Regions from separate parts of the Homo sapiens genome. Here region 1 is linked to region 2. The links are contacts of gene promoters, found by promoter capture Hi-C in human tissues and cell types (Jung and others, 2019). All regions are on one chromosome and are shown on one strand. Each heading gives the region's core, a stretch centred on a gene start or on the middle of the fragment in contact. The rest is flanking DNA. Distances are from core to core; before and after follow the strand shown. Region 1 holds the start of TLE6 (TLE family member 6, subcortical maternal complex member). Region 2 holds the start of GNG7 (G protein subunit gamma 7).

Region 1 (2,700 bases), core at 44-2,543, 270 kb before region 2:
CGCAAAGTGCAGGGAGCGGGGATTGCTTGTAAAACATCAACCAAATACATGATGTGTTCCTGTGTTTTTATCACATATGTGATTAGATGCTACATTTTTTTTTAGATGGGATCTCACTGTCACCAAGGATGGAGTGCAGTGGCACCATCATAGTTCACTGCAGCCTCAAACTCCTTGGGCTCAAGCCAACCCTCTGCCTCAGCCTCCCAAGTAGCTGCAACTACAGGCCCACGTCACTAGGCCCAGCTGATTCTTCTAGTTTTATTTTTTACAGAGACAGGGTCTCACTACGTTGTCCAGGCTGGTTTCAAACTCCTGGGCTCAAGTGGTCCTCCTGCCTCGGCCTCCAAAAATGTTGAGATTACAGTTGTGAGCCACAGTGTCCAGCCTACACTTAATTTTTTTTAAAAAACACGGCTCCTTGGCACCTGTCTTGAGTGTAGCAGCGACCAGTATTGTCTTCAGCTGCGAGGCCTGGGCGGGGCCAGCCCAGGTCACAGGTGGAAAAGGGGCAGAACCACATTGGGCCCGGGTTTCCCTTGAGGGCTGATCCCACCACATGCCCTCCTCACCGAAGTGCTTTTCGGGGGGCCCTTGGGTCTGGGCTGGTCCCTAGAGGTCATCTTCAAGGCAGTAGCCTCCAAGACTTTAGCCAGAGTCTAAAACAACAAGGAGACGGCAGGTCTTGAGGGACAGAAAATAAGGCAGTGCCAGGGAAGCAAGGCACCCGTTACCCCACCCGCACCTCCCAGTTTGGTAAGTCTCCAGGGACCCAATCCTGCGGTTCTCCCATGCGTTCCCTAGGTCCTGTCCTCACTTATCAATGCCTCCAGCTGCCCAGATTCATGGGGGCGGGGACCCAGAAAGAACTGAGCCTTGCCTCCCAGGCCTCACCCTAGGAGGCTGGGGTGGATAGTGCACATACACTCCCTGCTGGGGGCAGTCAGGGACGGGGGAGCCCAGGGAAGGTCGCCAAAGCTCAACCTTAGTTTTGAGACAATTTCCTAAAGCGCAGGGAGATCACTAGAAAGGGGTTTTGAAGGATGACTAGGAGTTAGCCAGGTGCATTAGGCGGAATTCATCAGACAGAAGAAACGACCTCTCTCCACCTCCATCCCTGCTGCAGCACCCAGCTTCTTCCTTGCCTCAGTCCTGCCCCTCCACGCCCCTGCAGCCCCTTCCCCGGCCGGGAATCCTGGAGTCCCCCCAGCCCCCTAGAACACGCCTGGCAACTCACGTCCCTCACCGGGCGGAAGCTGCGGAGGTCAGCCAAGTTCAGGCCAAGAGGAAACTCCTCCTTCCCCCACCGGGGGCCATTTGACCCATCGGGCCCCGCCTCGTCCCGCCTTGTCCCCGCCCCGTCCCGCCCAGGCCCCACCCAGCCGCCACCTGGACCGCGAAGCAGATCAATGAAGGCGCAGTAGCTGCACGTGGGTTCGGGCTCCGGGGGGGGCAGGCCTCTGGCGGCGCCGGCCAATAGCGAGGCCGTTTACGCACGTGGGTCGCGTACGCCCTCCCTGATTGGTCGGCTCTCCCCGGCCGCCGGCCATGCTGTCACTCAGCGAGCCGGGAGCCTCTGCTTTACCCTTTCGGTCCCGCTGCCGGGAAGGGCGGACTTGCAGAGCTATAGGCAATTTGGGGTCCCAGCGGGGGCGGGGATATTTAGGAGGGCGTGGGGCTTGAGGCTCAGAGGCTGGAACTTGGGCAGGGATAGGTGGCGAGTAGTTGCATTGTTTTACGCATTTTTAGCCTTGTCCGGAAGTGGCTTATGGCTGGAGGTGAGGAGTGGGAGGTGGGTGGGTTCAATCTTTAGCGCTGTCACCCCAATTCTTAGATACGGGCTAATTACATTTTCCTCAATATTAAATAACGTGCAATGCAAACGAAGCTTCAAGTCCTCTTTCTGGAGCCAACTTACTGGGTCCCCTTGATGGTCCCAGCCCCGGGCTATGCATTTATCACCGAATTTTCCCAACTGCTCTTCCAGCCCAGTGACAAAGGCTCTGAGAGCAGAAAGCGGGACAGCAGAGGCCCTGAGGCTGATACAGTATTGCCGGATGCAAGCGCGGGGTGGGAGAGAGTGGTGGGTATTCCAGACGGAGGGAATAGCGGAACCTCTCAGGCAGAGCTGGGCTGGTTACAGGAGCAGCCAGGGAGGCTAACGGGGCTGCGTGCACTCCGAACAGGCCTGGGATGATTTCCGAGAGGTAAGTGGGTTGCTGCAGAGCGAGAGAAACCTGCTGTGTGGGGTCGTGGGGATAGGAGTAAGGGGATTTCGGAGTTTTGTTTTGGCCTATTCAAAATATGAAGCCAAGTCACCATGGCTCACACCTGTGATCCCAGCATTTTGGAAGGCTGAGGTGGGAGGATTGCTTGAGGCCAGGAGTTGGAGACCAGCCTGGGCAACACAGTGACACCGCGTCTCTACAAAAAATTTAAAAATTAGCCAAGTGTGGTGGTCATGCACCTGTAGTCTCAGCTACTGGGGAGGCTGAGGCAGGAGGATGGCGTAAGCCCAGGAGGTTGAGTCTGGAGTGAGCTATGATCGTGCCACTGCACTCCAGTCTGAGCAACAGAGCAAGACTCCATCTCAAAAAAATATATAGCTATAATATATATAAAGTATATATATTATATATATAGTGGTCAAGCTGCAGTTCTGGAGTGAGAGCCCGTTTCTTTCTGTTTGGCCCAGGACCT
Region 2 (2,923 bases), core at 259-2,758:
GGCTGGTCTTGAACTCCTGGGCTCAAGCGATCCTCCCGCTTCAGCCTCCCAAAGTGCTGGGAATACAGTCGTGAGCCACCGTGCCCTTCCCAAGCTCTATCTAGACAGTCATTCCTCTTGGGGGATGCCAGCTGGGGAGAGCCTGGAGGAGGGCAAGCAGGGAGATGGAGGTTTCTCTGTGCCCTGCAGGGCAGGCCACTGGAGTCCAGAGGATGAGCAGGGAGGTTCTTGCAGGGATGACAGGAACCCTGGGGAAGTTTATCTTGGATTTTGGCCAGCAGCTCCAATCCCAGGGCTCAGGTGGGGCGGCAAGGACACACAGTGTCAGCGCCTGATGAAATCCCTGAGGTCACAGAATATGGTGGCTCCATCTTCCTTCCAGGGCTGTGTACTGCTTTTGGAGACATACAAAGTGTTTTCCAATATTCCCAAGGGAGCTTGTGGAAAATGAAGATTCCAGGCCTGTAATCCAAGCATTTTGGGAGGCAGAGGCAGGAGAATCACTTGAGCCCAGGAGTTCAAGACCAGTTTGGGCAACATAGCAAGACCCCATCTCTAACAAAAAAAAATTAGCCAGGGCCAGGCACGGTGGCTCACGCCTGTAATCCCAGCACTATGGGAGGCCAAGAAAGGTGGATCACCTGAGGTCAGGAGTTGGAGACCAGCCTGGCCAAAACGGTGAAACCCTGTCTCTACTAATAATACAAAAATTAGCTGGATGTGGTGGTGCGTGCCTGTGGCCCCAGCTACCCGGAAGGCTGAGGTGGAAGGACTGCTTGAGCCTGGGACTTCAAAGCTGCAGTGAGCTATGACTGCACCACTGCAGTCCAGCCACGGCAATTGAGTGATACCCTGTCTCAAAAACAAAACGAAAACTAAACAAAACACAGATTTCAGGGTCCAGTTCCCTATAGGATTCTGGTTCATTCCATCTGTGTTGGGGCTCAGGAATTTGTGGATCCAGGGCCATGAGTTAGGAAACTGAGAAATCTTGGAAATGATGAGACAGGCTTGGGCAAATGACCTTAGGTTTCACCTTTCTGAGACCCAGTTTCCACCTCTGTAAAATGTGGATAGTAATCTCGCCTTCTGGCCTTATGCGGAGGGTCCCACGAGAGGGAGCCTATAAAGTCTTCAAGAAAGCGGTGCAGCAGTTATGATCACTGACATTCTTCCCCAGCAAATGAGCCCCCGGAGCTGGCATGCAGGATTCGAACCAGCTCACCTAGCGCGGGATTCGAACTCGCGAAACTACTCGCGCCTTCCTGACGTCACGAAGTCACCCTGGAAAGCCGCTCTTCGCCCCGCCCCCGGCCCCGCCCGCGCCCGGAGCCCCGCCCCACTCTCCTGGGCGCAGCCTACCCCGCTGCCTGCCCCGCGCCCCGCCCCCGCTCCGGCCTCCCGCAGCCGGGGCTCGCGATTGGCCTTGCCGGGACGCCAGGGCCCGCCCCCCGAGTGTCGGCCCCGCCCCCGCAGAGGGGAGCGAGCGCTCGCGGGCCGGGGCGGAGGGTTCGGCTGCGCGGCGGGGCTGAGGCGGCCGCGGGGCCCGAGCGCAGGTAAGGGCGCCCGCGAACCGGGCCAGGGGAAGTGAGGGCGCGGCCGGCGTCCCGGAGAGGGGACTGGGACAGCTCGGATTCGGCTGCGGACCGAGTTGGGGGTCGGAGTCGGCTGAGGAGGGGGGCTGGGTCTGGGGACCCGGGCTGCAACTGGAGGCTGGGGTTGGAATTGGGGACGGGGCTGCGCTTAGGGGGTCGAAGTTAGCTGGGGAGGGGCTGGGGTTGGGGATTGGGACTGCACTTGGGGCTCAGGGCTAGCTGGGGAGGGGGCGGGAGTTGCAGGTCGAGGTTAGCTGGGGACGGGGCAGGGGGTGCAGATCGAGGTTAGCTGGGGAAGGATTGGGTCTGGGCATTGGGACTCCACTTAGAAATCAGGGCCAGCTGGGGAGGAGGCTGGAGTTGCAGGTCCAGGTTAGCTGGGGAGGGGGCTGGAGGTGGGATTGGAGGTCTGAGTTAGCTGAGGAGGGGGCTGGGGGTGAGACTGGAGGTCTGAGTTATCTGGGGAGGGGACTGGAGTTGCAGGTCGAGGTTAGCTGGGGAGGGAGCTTGGAGCGGGATTGGAGGTCTGAGTTGGCTGGGGAGGGGTCTGGAATTGCAGGTCCAGGTTAGCTAGGAAGGGGCTGGTGGTGGAATTGGAGGTCTTGAGTTTGCTGGGGAGGGGGCTAGAGTCGCAGGTCGAGGTTAGCTGCCGAGGGGGCTTGGAGTGGGATTGGAGGTCCAAGCTAGCTGGGGAGGGGGCTGGAATTGTAGGTCGAGGTTAGCTGGGGAGGGGGCTGGAAGTGGAATTGGAAATCTGAGTTAGCTGGGGAGGACGCTGGGGATGGTGTTGGGGGTTGAGGTTAATTGGAGCGGGGAACAGGGGTTGAGTCAAGGGTGCAGCTTCTTTGAAGAGGGAGCTGGGAGTGGGGTTGAGGTTTGCAGGGAGCTGGAGAGGGGGCTGGGGATGGAGTTTGAAGTGGGGTTCATTGGAGAGGGGGCTGCAGAGGGAATTAGATGTTGAGGTTGTCTGGGGAGAGGACTGAGGAATGGGGTTGGTGAAGATGGGGGGGTGTGATTGACGGCCCAGGGGTTAGGGTTAGCTGAAAAGGGGCAGAAGGACAAAGCTGGGGTGAGCCAGGGAGTGGCTGGAGCATACAGGTGGGGGTCAGGCTTGTTCCAGAAAGGGTCTGGGGGCTATCAGGGGAAATGGGGAGCTTGTGAGTGTGTGGGGTGGAAGGGGGTTCAGGGAGAAGGAAGTTGGGGTGAGTTAGTGAGAAGGGAGGTGGGGGTAAGGTCCCAGGCTGGAGACACCTGGGGGCAGGTGTTTTGCTAGACATTGACTAATCAGGAGGAAAACGGGGTGTGGGGAGGTGTCTCAGGTAGGATCC

The links. The method cuts DNA at HindIII sites, captures the fragments that hold promoters and counts their contacts. A contact is called where the count stands out against the background at its distance.
Region 1: a contact is called between the fragment with the promoter of TLE6 here and the fragment with the promoter of GNG7 in region 2, in 2 of the 25 tissues and cell types used here (adrenal gland and dorsolateral prefrontal cortex).

Annotation. Positions count from the first base shown.
Region 1 is chr19:2,976,157-2,978,856 of GRCh38, reverse strand. It overlaps TLE6 (TLE family member 6, subcortical maternal complex member), which reads right to left and starts at 1,293. Exons shown (of 17, transcript NM_001143986.2): 1 at 1,247-1,293; 2 at 573-659. The coding sequence starts at 623. RefSeq lists a silencer at 1,262-1,571. The HindIII fragment of the contact is 31,192 bases long and covers 1-2,700 here.
Region 2 is chr19:2,701,279-2,704,201 of GRCh38, reverse strand. It overlaps GNG7 (G protein subunit gamma 7), which reads left to right and starts at 1,508. Exons shown (of 5, transcript NM_052847.3): 1 at 1,508-1,556. RefSeq lists a silencer at 1,223-1,612. The HindIII fragment of the contact is 6,266 bases long and covers 1-2,923 here.